Linked DNA regions of Homo sapiens: regions 1, 2, 3 and 4 are each linked to region 5. The links are contacts of gene promoters, found by promoter capture Hi-C in blood cells and fetal thymus (Javierre and others, 2016). All regions are on one chromosome and are shown on one strand. The core of a region is centred on a gene start or on the middle of the fragment in contact, and the rest is flanking DNA. Distances in the headings are between cores, read along the strand shown. Region 1 holds the start of ATP2A1 (ATPase sarcoplasmic/endoplasmic reticulum Ca2+ transporting 1). Region 2 has its middle 2.9 kb from the start of SPNS1. Region 3 holds the start of TUFM (Tu translation elongation factor, mitochondrial). Region 4 holds the start of RABEP2 (rabaptin, RAB GTPase binding effector protein 2). Region 5 holds the start of HIRIP3 (HIRA interacting protein 3).

What was found. Contacts are between HindIII fragments. The CHiCAGO score rates a contact against its expected background, and 5 or more counts as called.
Region 1: the fragment with the promoter of ATP2A1 here is called in contact with the fragment with the promoter of HIRIP3 in region 5 in 1 of 17 cell types (fetal thymus); the score reaches 6.3 in fetal thymus.
Region 2: a contact is called between a fragment that was not itself captured here and the fragment with the promoter of HIRIP3 in region 5, in 1 of 17 cell types (erythroblasts). The highest score is 6.6, in erythroblasts.
Region 3: the fragment with the promoter of TUFM here is called in contact with the fragment with the promoter of HIRIP3 in region 5 in 2 of 17 cell types (non-activated CD4 T cells and fetal thymus); the score reaches 9.8 in non-activated CD4 T cells.
Region 4: the fragment with the promoter of RABEP2 here is called in contact with the fragment with the promoter of HIRIP3 in region 5 in 5 of 17 cell types (fetal thymus, total B cells, naive B cells and 2 more); the score reaches 12.2 in fetal thymus.

The regions. Positions count from the first base shown.
Region 1 is chr16:28,877,085-28,879,784 of GRCh38, forward strand. It overlaps ATP2A1 (ATPase sarcoplasmic/endoplasmic reticulum Ca2+ transporting 1), which reads left to right and starts at 1,404. Exons shown (of 23, transcript NM_004320.6): 1 at 1,404-1,705; 2 at 2,015-2,032; 3 at 2,417-2,499. The coding sequence starts at 1,588. ATP2A1-AS1 (ATP2A1 antisense RNA 1) reads right to left here. Exons shown (of 2, transcript NR_046290.1): 1 at 2,458-2,700; 2 at 1,873-2,020. RefSeq lists enhancers at 375-444, 455-544, 1,790-2,563 and a silencer at 2,634-2,683. The HindIII fragment of the contact is 4,054 bases long and covers 1-2,699 here.
Region 2 is chr16:28,970,502-28,973,201 of GRCh38, forward strand. No RefSeq gene overlaps it. Among named protein-coding and RNA genes, the nearest start is that of SPNS1, 2.9 kb to the right of the region's middle. The HindIII fragment of the contact is 3,657 bases long and covers 1-2,700 here.
Region 3 is chr16:28,845,094-28,847,793 of GRCh38, forward strand. TUFM (Tu translation elongation factor, mitochondrial) reads right to left here and starts at 1,255. Exons shown (of 10, transcript NM_003321.5): 1 at 1,125-1,255; 2 at 819-1,013; 3 at 221-387. The coding sequence starts at 1,176. It also overlaps a transcript of SH2B1 not described here. RefSeq lists an enhancer at 1,117-1,606. The HindIII fragment of the contact is 15,792 bases long and covers 1,027-2,700 here.
Region 4 is chr16:28,923,972-28,926,671 of GRCh38, forward strand. RABEP2 (rabaptin, RAB GTPase binding effector protein 2) reads right to left here and starts at 1,267. Exons shown (of 13, transcript NM_024816.3): 1 at 1,132-1,267; 2 at 432-644. The coding sequence starts at 1,192. RefSeq lists enhancers at 399-488, 519-748, 1,727-2,310 and silencers at 909-1,128, 1,159-1,508. The HindIII fragment of the contact is 8,433 bases long and covers 1-2,700 here.
Region 5 is chr16:29,994,177-29,996,876 of GRCh38, forward strand. HIRIP3 (HIRA interacting protein 3) reads right to left here and starts at 1,441. Exons shown (of 7, transcript NM_003609.5): 1 at 1,365-1,441; 2 at 1,167-1,287; 3 at 927-1,041; 4 at 1-667. The coding sequence starts at 1,429. INO80E (INO80 complex subunit E) reads left to right here and starts at 2,065. Exons shown (of 7, transcript NM_173618.3): 1 at 2,065-2,215; 2 at 2,371-2,441; 3 at 2,632-2,684. The coding sequence starts at 2,135. RefSeq lists enhancers at 1,789-1,958, 2,019-2,148. The HindIII fragment of the contact is 4,684 bases long and covers 1-2,700 here.

The DNA of each region.
Region 1 (2,700 bases), core at 154-2,653, 1.1 Mb before region 5:
GCCCTGGTGGTAACCAAGAGACGCCCCCATCCTGGAGCAGGGGTGGGGAGGGGCAGCTCAGAGCAGCTGCTTCTCTGAGGAAGCTGACACCAAGGCCAGCATTCAGCAACAACTTGTGGCTTTGCACCCAGCGCCGGGGTCCCCGCCCACCTGGCTCCCTGCTGTCCCTCTTCCCCACTGCTGCTCGGACTTCCCTCTGACCCTGGTGGCTCTGTGTCTCTGCTCCCTTTCCCCCTAGGTCTAGACATCTGTCCTTATTTCCCCCAGACCTGTCCCCAGAAGTCCACCCTTCCCCATTCCTTTGGTCTGGAGCCCCTGCTTGGTCCAGCTTCCCCAGGCCCCGACACCTTTCTGTGGGGTCTGCCTAGCTCCTGCACGCACACAGCATGGGCCTGATCCTGTTCCCCTCGTGGACAGATGCAGCAGGGCAGAGTGCAGCGCAGACCACAGGCCTCTGGGGCTGGCCACAGAAACCCCGTTGGTTAGAGCACAGTGTGGGATGAGGTGACCCTCAGTGCACGACTTGGGGTGACCCCTGCCCCCATCCTGAGACAGTTACCCCTCCCCCTCTGCCATCAGCACATTCTGTAGCCTCTTGGGTTACTTGGCTGCCTTGGTGTCCCATTTTCTTGGGGGTGGGGTGGGGATTCCCTATCCAGGATGGGGGGGCCCTCAGGGCTCTGTTCCCAGAGGCTGAGTTAGAGCGATGGGGAAGGGGGGGGGCAGTTTTGGGGAGAGACAGGCAGTGCTGGCTTTGCTCACCAGGGCCTGGACACTAAATCCCTTGTTGATGGCTGTGGCAACCCCTCCCTAGGGTAGGGTTACCATCTTCGGCCCTGTCCCCTTGACTCTCTCCCCTCACTTCCCCTTGTCCCTCTAGGAGCCACTCACTTCCTCTAGCCCCCAAAAGATGTTCTCCCTTCATCAGTCCCCCAAAGGCTTGGGGTATCTCTGCCACTGCTTCAGCAAATGGGGTGAGGAGGAAGGAGACTGCGGCAATGGAAACAGGCTCCGGGCAGATGAGGCAGGAAGGGGGGTGTGAGGAAAGGGACAGGTGAGGCCGGGGATGGAAGAGGGCTCCGGGAAGAACTGGGGGGATGAGTTTGGAATGGGAAATTCAATGCAGCTGGGGAAGTCGAGGCAATGGGGGGGCAGGGTCAGTAGCAGATGACAGAAAGTGAAGTCTCTCCCTACCCCACTTCCCTGGGGCTGGGGCTACCTTTGCGTCCCTCATGAGTGACATCTCAGGCTGCAGCCCCACTGTTCCCCCTCTGTCAGCAGAAATATCTCTCTTTTCTGACCACCTCCTGCTGGAGTCTCAGCCAGCCAATCCCTGATCTGGTGGAGGGGGGAGCCCGGCCTCCCCCTGCTCCCTCATAAGGACCAGCTGGGGGCCGGGGGGTGGCCGGCTGCTCAAGTGGGACGGGGGTCAGAGCTTTGTGGAGGGAAGAAAAACCTGGAGGGGGCAGGAGAGTAAAAAGAAGAAACCCAGGCAGACAGGCAGTTGGACACACTGAGGAAGACCCCCCACGAGTGGGAACCCCCTGGAAGGAACACACCGGCCCCGGCCCCCAGGAAGGGAGCACAATGGAGGCCGCTCATGCTAAAACCACGGAGGAATGTTTGGCCTATTTTGGGGTGAGTGAGACCACGGGCCTCACCCCGGACCAAGTTAAGCGGAATCTGGAGAAATACGGCCTCAATGGTAAGTGTCCCTTGGAAGAGCGGCTGGTAATTAATGCCCTCCTGCACCCCCAAAACACACGCACACGCATGCACGCGTTTCTCCCTTCAGGGTTTCTTAAGGAAGAGCTGGGCCGTTGTCCAATGCTCGCAGGGGGAAGAAGATACTGAGAAAACAGAGTCCCGAGATCCAGAGTTTTGGGAGGTTTTAATGGGATGAACTTGATGAACCTCAAGGTGGCCTGATTCTCTTAGCCACAAAGTCTTGGGTGTGGGGGGCATGAGGCTGAACCCCAAATGAATCTGTCCTTTTCTTCTTTTTCCTGGGTAGAGCTCCCTGCTGAGGAAGGTAAGTTACTGGAATCCCTGAACTCTCATAAATGACCACCCCCCACCCCGCCCTGTCCCACTCCCTCCTCCCTGCCTCTTTAGATTCTTTGAGCAAATATCCCTTCCCAAAAGGCAAATCTCCCTCCCTAAAGGTTAGAGTCCTGTCCGGGGCAGAAGTCTCCCAGGCGCTTTCTCCTTGAAGCAGCCAACCCTTGAACTGCCCCCCACTTTGCCGAGTCTGTTTCTGGACTCCAGGCGAGCTTCTTAGCCCTTCTCTGGGCACCAAGCTGTCTGCCCACCACCCTAGAGCCTCCCCACTGCAGGCCGGAGTCCAGGGCGCTCCATCCCAGACCTTCACCCACTAGACCTTAACCCGGGGCCCTCCCCTTGCCTCCTCCCCCAGGGAAGACCCTGTGGGAGCTGGTGATAGAGCAGTTTGAAGACCTCCTGGTGCGGATTCTCCTCCTGGCCGCATGCATTTCCTTCGTAAGTGTGGGAGGGTCTCTGGGGGCTGGCTGGGGGTGTGAGGCTGGGATCGGGCGAATGCGGGGCTCGCAGTCACTGGATCCTCCCGTCCGAGTCCCGAGCATCCCATTGTACAGACGGGGCGGGCTGGCGCGCAGCAGCGGGTGTGATTCGCGTCCTCCTCTCTCCTCCCCTGCACCCCAGAGGCAGGTTTTATTTTAA
Region 2 (2,700 bases), core at 171-2,670, 1.0 Mb before region 5:
TGTATTTTTAATAGAGACAGGGTTTCCCCATGTTGGCCAGGCTGGTCTCAAACTCCTGAACTCAAGTGATCCTCCTGCCAAAGTGCTGGGATTACAGGCGTGAACCACCACTCCCGGCCTATTGTAGTTTAATTAATATGCCTAAACATTGACTCATTTTAAGCATACAGTTCAGTGAATTTTTTCAAAAAATTATTTATGTAGAGACAGGGTCTTGCTCTGTCACCCAGGCTGGAGTGCAGTGGCGCAATCATAGTTCACTGCAGCCTCAAACTCCTGGCCTCAAACATCTTCCCATTTCAGCCTCCCTAAGTGCTGGAATTACAGGCATGAGCCACCATGCCTGGCCTTCAGTGAGTTTTGGTAGATGTACACGGTTGTGCAAAAGTTTCCTTCTCTTGCCCATGACCCCAGGCAACCACTAATCTGCTTTCTGTCACCTTACTTTTGCCTTCTCTGGATGTTCATATAAATGGAATAACAGTATGCAGTGTTTTGTGTCTGGCTTCTTTTACTTAACACAATGTTTCTGCGTTTGTATCAGTAGTTCTGTTACAGGACAGGGGTCCCGATCCAGACCCCAAGTGAAGGTTCTTGGATCTCGTGCAAGAAAGAATTCAGGGTGAGTCCACAGTGTGAAGTAAAAGCAAGTTTATTAAGAAAGTAAACTGGGCCGGGCACAGTGGCTCACACCTGTAATCCTAGCACTTTGGGAGGCTGAGGTGGGCGGATCACCTGAGGTCAGGAGTTCAAGACCAGCCTGGCCAACATGGCGAAACCCTATCTTTACTAAAAATACAAAAATTAGCTGGGCGAGATGGTTGGGGCCTATAATGTCAGCTACTTGGGAGGCTGAGGCAGGAGACTCACTTGAACCTGGGAGGCAGAGGTTACAGTGAGCTGAGATCATGCCATTGCACTCCAGCCTGGGCTACAGAGTGAGACTCCGTCTCAAAAAAAAAAAAAAAAAAAAGTAAACTGGTGAAAGTACAGCTACTCCATAGACAGAGTAGGACATTCCTGAAAGTAAGAAGGGGAAGGCATCCACCTTATGTACAAGACTCATATATATGGGGAGATGTGCTCTGCTACAAGGGTTTGTGATAAAGGATTTTTTTTTTTTTTTTTTTTGAGATGGAGTCTCGCTCTGTCGCCCAGGCTGGAGTGCTGTGGCACGATCTTGGCTCACTGCAACCTCCGCCTCCTGGGTCCCAATTTAAGCAATTCTCCTGCCTCAGCCTCCTGAGTAGCTGGGATTACAGGAACACGCCACTATGCCCAGCTAATTTTTGTATTTTTAGTAGAGATGGGGTTTCACCATGTTGGCCAGGCTGGCCTTGAACTCCTGACCTCGTGATCCGCCTGCCTTGACCTCCCAAAGTGCTGGGATTACAGGCATAAGCCACTGCGCCCGGCTAATTTTCTTAATTACTATATTTAGCAAGAATCAATATTGTTATCTTTAAAGCAAAATTAGGAATGCTTTGTTCTCCATATATTGGGATATCTGGACACTCCCAAGTCTGGGTCTGTTTAGTAAACATTATATTATTATTATTTGAGATGGAGTTTTGCTCTTGTTGCCCGGGTGGGAGTGCAGTGGTGCTCTCTCAACTCACTGCAGCCTCTGCCTCCCAGGTTCAAGTGATTCTTCTGCCTCAGCCTCCTGAGTAGTTGGGATTACAGGTGTGTGCTACCATGCCCGGCTAATTTTTTTTTTTTTTTTTTGAGACGGTGTCTCACACGGTTGCCCAGGCTGGAGTGCAGTGGCACAATCTCGGCTCACTGCAGCCTCTGCCCCCTGGGTTCAAGCAGTTCTCTGCCTCAACCTCCCGAGTAGCTGGGATTGCAGACGCCCACCACCACGTCTGGCTAATTTTTTGTGTGTGTTTTTAGTAGAGATGGGTTTTCACCATCTTGGCCAGGCTGGTCTTGAACTCCTGACCTTGTGATCCACCCGCCTCGCCCTCCCAAAGTGTTGGGATTACAGGCGTGAGCCACTGCGCCCGGCCTAGTAAACGTTATTGTTTCCTTAACCATAAACATGTCGAGTCTAGGAATGCCTTACTTTCTGTAATTCAGTCCAGCAAGTCCCAGCCTTATTTTCCTAACCGTCACTCAAGATGGAGTCACTCTGGTCCGAACGTCTCTGACAGTTCATTCCTTTTTCTTGTTAAGCTATTCCCGTTGTATGAATAGATTATGCCCCTGTTGATGGACATGTGGATTCTTTTCATTTTTGGGCTATTATGAATAATGCATTTATGAACATTCATATACAGGTTTTTGTTTGGACACGTTTTCATTTCTCATTGGTGGTTACCTAGGAGTGGAATTGCTGGGTCATATGGGAAGTGTATATTTAATTTTTATTTATTTAGTTTTTTTGTAGAGATGAGTCTTGCTTTGTTGCCCAGGCTGATCTTGAACTCCTGGGCTGAAGTGATCCTCCCACCTCAGCTTCCCAAAGGGCTAGGATTACAGGCATGAGCCACTGTGCCTGGCCAAAAACACAATTTTTAAAATGGACAAAAGAGCTGGGTGCAGTGGCTCACACCTGTAGTCCTAGCATTTTGGGAGGATGAGGTGGGAGGATTGCTTGAGTTCAGGAGTTCCAGACTAGCCTGGACAACATAGCGATAACTCATCTCTACAAATATAAAAATTAAAATGACACTGGGCATGGTGGCTCACCCCTGT
Region 3 (2,700 bases), core at 5-2,504, 1.1 Mb before region 5:
AGCTCTTCAGTTCACATCCATATAGCCAAGTGTAGCAGTTAGAAACTCAGGCCCACCTTTCTCTACCATCTCCTCACCACCCATTCTGCGTGGCCAAGACCACAAACCTGCCATCTCATACCCAAACACTGAATATCTTAATCTCCTCCCCACAAGCCTAACATTTATCCTGACAAGAGGCAGCTTCTGGCCCTGTCTCCAGTGTCCCAGCAACCCTCACCTTAACATAATCTGCATGACCCGGGCAGTCTGTGTGGGCGTAGTGGCGGGCGGCAGTGCTATACTCCACATGAGCCGCATTGATGGTGATACCCCGAGCTCGCTCCTCCGGGGCATTGTCAATCTCCTCGTACTTCTTGAACTTAGCCCCACCTCCCTCAGCTAGAACTAAAGGAGGAAAAGAACACACCTCTCAGCTAAAGTTCCAGTGCTAGAGGCAGAGCTTAGACCACGCCCCTGAACCCTCCCACCTAAATACATAACCTCCTCCAATCTCTAACTCTTCCAGCAGAGAGAACTGTGGGTCAGAAAGAAATGTTAGAGGGCCTTAAGGGTCTGCCCTGTGACTTCTTTAGGGTACAGCCTCTGCTTGCAGAGCATTCCCCACGACTTTGTGATCCCCAAGCCATTGGTGGATCACAAAGTTCTTCCTGTTCAGGAGAAATTTGTCTCTTGCATCTCCCAATCCACCTGTCGCACAAATTCGGGCTCTTGGGGCCACAGTAAACTCCTCCAGCAGACACTCTGCTGGCCTTGCCTCCCTGGCTCCAGGTCCCATCAGTAGATAGGGCGCTGCTGGACGCCCCAACCCCACTCACTCTTCGTGATGGCTGCAGTCAGCGTGGTCTTCCCGTGGTCCACATGGCCGATGGTACCCACATTCACATGTGGCTTGTCGCGCACGTAAGTCTTCTTGGCCTCCACGGCCAGGCCGCGGCACAAGAGAGGCAATGCCGGGGCTTTCAGCAGCCGCAACAGACCCTGCAGCAGGAAGGTCCGGCCGGCGGCGAGACCTGCCGGGACCGAAGCTTGGAGTCAGGCAGGGAAGGGGTCAGACCGAACCCAGCCACCTACCACTCCCCCAAAGTGTTCCTGGGCCGCCATCGCCCTCCCTGACCACTCACCGCTGAAGTGGGGCGTCGCGCGCAGCAGGGTGGCGGCCGCCATTGTGGTCATACTCGCGCCCCGGTAACCGGGGAGCCGGGACCAGGAGCCCGAGCGCACAGAAGAAGAAGGGCGCCTGCGGCTGGAAGGCACTTCCGGCGGAAGTTAGAGCTGGGAGGGCAAGTCCGGGCCCCTCTAGCCGCCAGTGTCTATGGCCGTCTCAGCCGACGTCGGGCGCGCGGCTGAAGACGTCATGGAGGGGGCTGGTGTCTCGAGGGCGGAGTATGATGGAGAGGTTTTCCACCACTCGCGCCTCTCGGGCTGAGGGGCAACGTAGTTCTCTCTGGCGGTCGCAGGGGGCACTGAGGAGCGTCCCCTAAATCACCGGCGCCGCGAAGGCTCATGGGCGTAGTAGTTCTCAGGTCGGCGGGCTGTGGAGGTGATCAGAGTGGGAGTCAGGCGGGCTAGGCCGGACCCGGAGGGAGGGGCTCGGGCTCCGGGAGGCAGCTGCGGCTCCGACTGCTCAGGAACCTCCTCCTGGGCCCGGCAGAGAGAGACCCCGAGTCCCCCGGAGTCCGACTCGCTACGCGGGTCTTGCGAGATATCTGGCCGCCTCTGCCGCAGCTGGAGGTAGGGGACCAGGTCCTGGACGCCTTTCGGGGATGGGGTGAAGTGTGACCTCCCTCTTCGCTGAGACTTTGTTTTCTAATCTGTAAAATGGGAATAGTAGTATCCACTTCATAGGGAGAGCCTGACATCTAGCCCTGAGAGGAGATGAACTGGGTAGGAGTCAGTGTTGGGCCCTGTGAGGTCAGGCAGCTTGCGGGGACCCTGTACTGCTAGACCTCACAGGGCCAGAGCCCACAAGACAGACAGCTTCGCTGCCCACCCCTGTAGTCCCTCAGCAGCCTAAGGAGCAGTTCCGTTGGGCATCGCCCCACCCATCTAATTTTGCAGATGAGGAGCCAAGGATGAGGAGCCAGCTAGGGGAGCCTTTAAGGGGAGCCTGAGTCTCCTTTAATCTGTCGGTGTCCCCAGCACCTAACAGGGTGGAGCATGCAGTGAATGTTGAATGAATGGGTGCAAGGGTAGTCAATGTCCCTTAACTTTCACATCCATCATCTCATGGCAGCTTCCACAGGGCACTCCAAAGTGTTAATTATGGCTGCTTAACCCTGGCTAATGTTTCGGAACTCATCAGATCCTGAGACTCAGTGGACAGTGTTTGTTTCAAATAGATTCCCTAATTCCTCCCCTGGAGGTTATGATTCCGTGGGGTCTATGCACAGACTGGGAAGCTATATAACAAACACTCTTCTAAAACTGAGAAGAGGCTGGGCACGGTGGCTATAGTGCCAGCCTATAGTCCCAGCAGTTTGGGAGGCTGAGGTGGGAGGACGGTTTGAAGCCAGGAGTTCAAGACCAGCCTGGGCAGATTAGGAGACCCTATCTCTACAAAAAAAAATTTAAAATTAGCCAGGCACAGTAGCATGCAGCTATAGCCCCTCCTACTCAGGAGGCCGAGGCAGGAGGATCGCCTGAGCTCAGGAGTTCAAGGCTGTGGTGAGGTATGATCATGACACTGCACCCCACCGT
Region 4 (2,700 bases), core at 17-2,516, 1.1 Mb before region 5:
CGTGGGGTGGAGGGGGGAGTGTCTGGGGAAGGCTAGAGAGCAGAGCATTAGACTCACAGAGACTGGGCCAGGGCTGATTCTATTTCCCAGAAGTCCAGACTAAAATGAGGTTGGTTTGGGGAACTGAGAAGTTTCTCGCCCATCTTCAGGGTTGATCAATCATCAGTGAGGGACAAGAAATGACATGGGACAAGGCAACAGATAGAAGCTGGGAGCTAAACTTAGCTATAACTGACAGAGCTGCTGCTATCACATGGAGGGCCTCTATGCAAATTTTAAAAGGGCGGCCCTTCCTCTGGGCCATAGGCATGCCCTGTGCCAGGCAGCCCTGCTAACCTATCCCATAGCTTATCTGTGCCCCCAATCCCTTTCTCGTCATGCACTCCCCAGTATGGGGTTGATGGGGAGTCTAGGTGAGTCCCGCGTCTCACCTTTCAGGATGGCCTGCAGCGAGGCCACCTCCTCTTGGCACTGCCGCTGCACCGCAGCCACAGCCTCGGCCTTCGTGCTCTCGCTCACCTCTGCCACAGCCTTCATGGTTTCCATTTCTGCCAGGGCGCCTGCCAGCTCAGCCCGAAGCCGGCTGAGCTCACCTGACTCGGCCTCACCATTTGCCCCTTCCTGGGACCGGGAGTCCTCCAGTGCTGTGGGGGACAGGGATCAGCCTCTCTTCCCATCTCTTACCCCAGGCCACCTACCGGCTTAGCAAGTCCTGCAACCTAGTACTGTTGCCTTCATCTGGGGCCTCCTTCACCTGGGCCCGCCCGGCTCACCTGGCCCCGCCCCTGCCCCGCCCCCTTCCCACTCGCTCTGCCGGGTGCTGCCTACACTCCATCTCTTCGCGGTGGCCAGTTTCACTCAGTCCTCTCTTCGGTCCCACCTGGCCCCGCCCTCCTAGTGGCCGCGCCCCTTCCTCACCGGGCCCCACTTCGCACCTGTCACTGGCCCTACCCCTTCAATGGCCGGGCCACGCCCCCTTTTGCCTGTGGCTGTAGGCCCCGCCCCCTTTCCCGACGGCGTGGCCCCGCCCCTTCCTCCATCATCCCTCTCCACCCCCCATCCGCAGGTGGCTGGCTCGGCCCCGCCCCCAGCATCACCGTTCCCCGCTTGCACGGACGCCCCCTCACGTACCAGCCCCCGGCCGCCGCCGCCGCTCATCGTCGTCCGCGGCCACCGGCGCAGCTGCCGCCATTGCCTCAGCGCAAACGGCGGATTCCCGCACTCCCTGGTGACGGAGCGCACCGCTTCCGGGTCCTCTCGGCTGTTTCCGGATCCGCTCGGCTGTTTCCGGATCGGCCCCGGGCTGGAGGCCCCGGACGGAGGATGGGGGGATTGCCGAGCCTCGGCCGAAGATTCCCGAGTCGGCCCCCGGCCCCGGCCCCGGCCCCGCCCCGGCTCTTCTTGGCTGGGTCGCGCGGTTCGGGAGGACGCCTGCCTTTCAAGCCCGGAAGAGGATCCTTAAGAGGTCTTGCCCGGCGTCTCTCCGTGACCTTGGAAGCCCTGCTCCAATTATGCCTCCTCCGGGACACCGGCCTGCGGAGAGCTCCCCCTCGCTCCCTCGCTGCCCCTGCCCGGAGCCAGCCTTTGATCGGCTCCGGCCGCCCTTCCGCCCGAGCCTGGCTTGCGTTACCGCGAATTGTGGCGGGGCCCTCCCTGCACCTCCGCCCTCTTGGAGCGTCCCTCGGGGCAGGGCCGGGTCGGCTTCATTTTTCTGAGCGCCTCGGAGTCCCCGCGTAGTTAGTCGGAGTCTGAAACTTGCACGTCCCCACCCCCATTTTGTTACTCAGCCAGTCACCGCTTCCTGCTGGCCCCCCTTTCCTCCTCCCAACGCCCTCAAATCCCTCCTCTCCTCTCCGCCTGTGTCTAGATCAGGCTCTTTATCTGTGACCTCCACCCGGACGGTGACAGGCAATTCAGATTTATGTCCAGAGCCTTGGTTCCCCTTCCCTCAAACCTTTTTTCCCTCTGTAAAGGACACGCCAGGAACCTGGAAGTCCTTGATTCTACGTGTCCTCCTGCAAGTCCCGTAAACTCTACTTCCAATGTGCTGACTATTCCAGAATGTGCCCCTTTTTCTCCATCTCCAGCGCTAACACTCCGTCCCAGCTCCCATCACTTCTCCTGAACTTCCGCAGTGTCGACTCCACCCTTTAATTAATTAATTCTCCGTAAAGCAGCTGGAGCGATTTTTGTAAAACAGATAATGCAGTTTGAAAATGGCCAAAGGTAGAACGCTTTTACACTGTTGGTGGGAATGTAAATTAGTTCAACCATTGTGGAAGACAGTGTGGTGATTCCTCAAAGACCTAGAACCAGAAATACCATTTGACCCAGAAATCCCATTACTGGGTATATACCTAAAGGAATATAAATCATTCTATTACAAAGATACATGCACGAGTATGTTCATTGAAGCACTATTCAAAATAGCAAAGACATGGACTCAACCCAAATGCCCATCAATGATAGACTGGATAAAGAAAATGTGGTACATATACACCATGGAATACTATACAGCCATAAAAAGGAACGAGATCATGTCCTTTGCAGGGACATGGATGAAGCTAGAAGCTATTATCCTCAGCAAATTAATGCAGCAACAGAAAGCTAAACATGCATGTTCTCACTTATAAGTGGGAGCTGAACAATGAGAACACATGGACACAGGGAGGGGACCAACACACATGGGGGCCTGTGGGG
Region 5 (2,700 bases), core at 191-2,690:
AGCTGGGTCCTGTCCTCACTCTTCCTCTGCACTGGGGGTTCTCTATCTCTCCCACTGTCATCCCCACTGCTGGCTGCCTCTTTCTGCTCTTCCTCGCTGTCTGAGTCTCCCAAGAGCCTCTTTGCCTGGCTTTTCTGCTTACAGCTCCTCTCCTCCCTAGCTGACTTTCTCCGGCCATTGCTCCTGGTTCTGGGTTTCCAATCCCCCTTTTCCTCATCCTCTTCTTTCTCTTCCTCCTCCACTTCCTCCTCTCTCTGCTCTTTCTTCTGGGCTAGGATCTCCTCTTCACTCTCCTGTTCACTTTCCTTCAGGCTTTTAGTTCCTTTATTTCCCTCCACCTTCTTTGCTGTCCTCTGAACGGGTTCTGCCTCGCTCTCCTCACTTTCTTCCCTGGCCTGCTTCCTACTGACTGAGGCCTTGCCTGGTGCCTGCTTCTTTACCACAGGTTTCTTCCTAGTCTTCCCCTTGTACCCCTTTTCCTCCTCCTCACTGCTCTCCTCTCCCCTCTGTGCGGGCAGGTCCCTCTGCCGTTCCTCATCACTGCTCTCCTCAACTGCCTTTGAGGCTCGCCTTGGATTCTCCTCTTTGGCTGGGCTGACTTCTGCTGCCACCCCATTCTTTGCTGGGGGTCCAAAGTAGTCTGGGCTGGAGGCTTCAGAGCCGGACTCTGGAATATGGAGAGGAGAGAGGGTTGAGACAGGCTCCTCCTGTCCCTTCTCCCTTCACTTCGGATAGGTTGCCTCGAGCCCTGCCCTGACAGTTGGAGGGGCAGCAGGAAACAGCTATCTGTACTTGCTGTTCCCGGTTCCTGACTCACTAGCCTTGCTCCCTCATCTAACGCCTGGGGACATAAGAGATGCGCAGTGAATGCTTCTTGAGTGAACCAACGATGCAGAAGGCCCCCACAGCAGGGAGGAAGCACTAACCCGACTCTGAATTGAAGCGGAACCTTTTTCTCTCCGGGTCGCTACAAGGGGTGGGAGGCCTCTTGCCCTTCTTGGTAAGGTCCAGTTTGTCTTCCCTGGAAGCGGCTTCATCCACCTGTGTGTGCGCCAAGAGGGCAAACTATGCACCAAGGCTGCGCTCACCGCGCCCCGTCAGGCCCCTCCTCCTCAGCAGCAAGCCCCGCCTCCGCCTCCCGCGGCCCAGGCTCCGGCCCGGCACACCTGCATCTTCAGCAGCTCCTCCTCCACCAGCCGCTTCAGTGCCTGCTTCTCCTCGGGCTCCAGGTGGCTGCGGCCCGAGTGAGCTAAGTACCTCCGCCGCACGATGGAATGCGTAAGCGTGCTGCAGGGACATGGTGTCAGGACGGAGTCCCGACCCACCCGCGCCCTTTCCAACCCCATCTCCAACCCCCTGGGCACCTGAGGTCCGGGCGGCCTCGGAAGAAGCTACGGGTGAACTCCTGCATCTCCTTCTCCCGCGCCATTTTGCTCAACCCGGGATTGACGGCTCCCGCCTTTTTTTCTTCTCGGCCTCCGTCAGCGCGTTTGACAGCGGCTCGCGCACGCGCAGTGCTGCGGCAACGTGGGGCGAGGGACCGTTGGCCCTTGGCCGCGGACCGCGTGGGCCGAGAACTTTGCCAGACGAGACTTGTTTTCTCTGGGCAGTTGGAGGGTCTCGCGGCTCCTACCCTTTTTTGGAACGGATCATTTTAAAAGTTCTCGTTAGAAACCAATTCGGCGCCGGCACCCTTTGGGTGAAACCTAATCAGCCCGCGACGCTGCCTTTCTCACTGGTCACGGGCAACAGCTAGGCTGCTGTTATTTCGCAAGGCAGAAGAGAAAAGGCATCCTCGCGAGCAGATGAGGAACCTCGGGGATAAATCCTTTTGTGGCTTCAAGTGTCTAAGTACATTAGAGTCAGGAACGGCGCTTTCCAGCGTCCGCCATTTTTGTGGCGTCACCGCGTCGCTGCTACGCCATCCCCAGCGCAGTGGCTGCCGCGCTCCTGTCCCAGTGTCCCCCGGGAGGTCGGCCCGTGCGGTGACGCCCCTGAGCGCGGGGTACGCCGGGAGTTGTAGTCCTGACGGCACAGCCTTGCAGCGTCTCCGGAAGTGGAGGCGGGAGCGGCACGGCAGCCACTGCTTGGGGTAGCGGGAGGGCAGACTCTGGGCGCCACTCCCGGGCCGGTCATGAACGGGCCGGCGGACGGCGAAGTGGACTACAAAAAAAAATACCGGAATCTGAAGCGGAAGCTCAAGTTCCTCATCTACGTGAGTGCTGCCGCGGGAAGGCTGTGGGGGATGAGGCCTGGCGCGGACAAGATCTCAGTTTACCCAGGTGTAAAGTGGGTGGGGCGAGCGGCCGCTGGTTCCGGGGCCCTTCACGGAGGACCGTTGGCCCAGCGCACCCCTTGCCCGTGATACAGGAGCACGAGTGCTTCCAGGAGGAGCTGAGGAAAGCGCAAAGGAAATTACTGAAGGTGTCCCGGGACAAGAGGTGAGGCACGTTGCAGGGGCGGAGGGCGATGTGCTTCCTAGGAAATCTACATTCGGACCCCATCCCCGAGTAGGGCCACAAGTGCATGGGCTCTTTCAAGTATCCGATGGGCCAGCTGGGAGGGACAGGTACCCAGGAGGACATTGCTGCGCTGGAAAATCACTGTCCGTGTCTCCTTCCCTCCCCTCAGTTTCCTCCTAGACCGACTTCTGCAGTACGAGAACGTGGATGAAGACTCTTCGGGTGAGCAAGGTCTTCA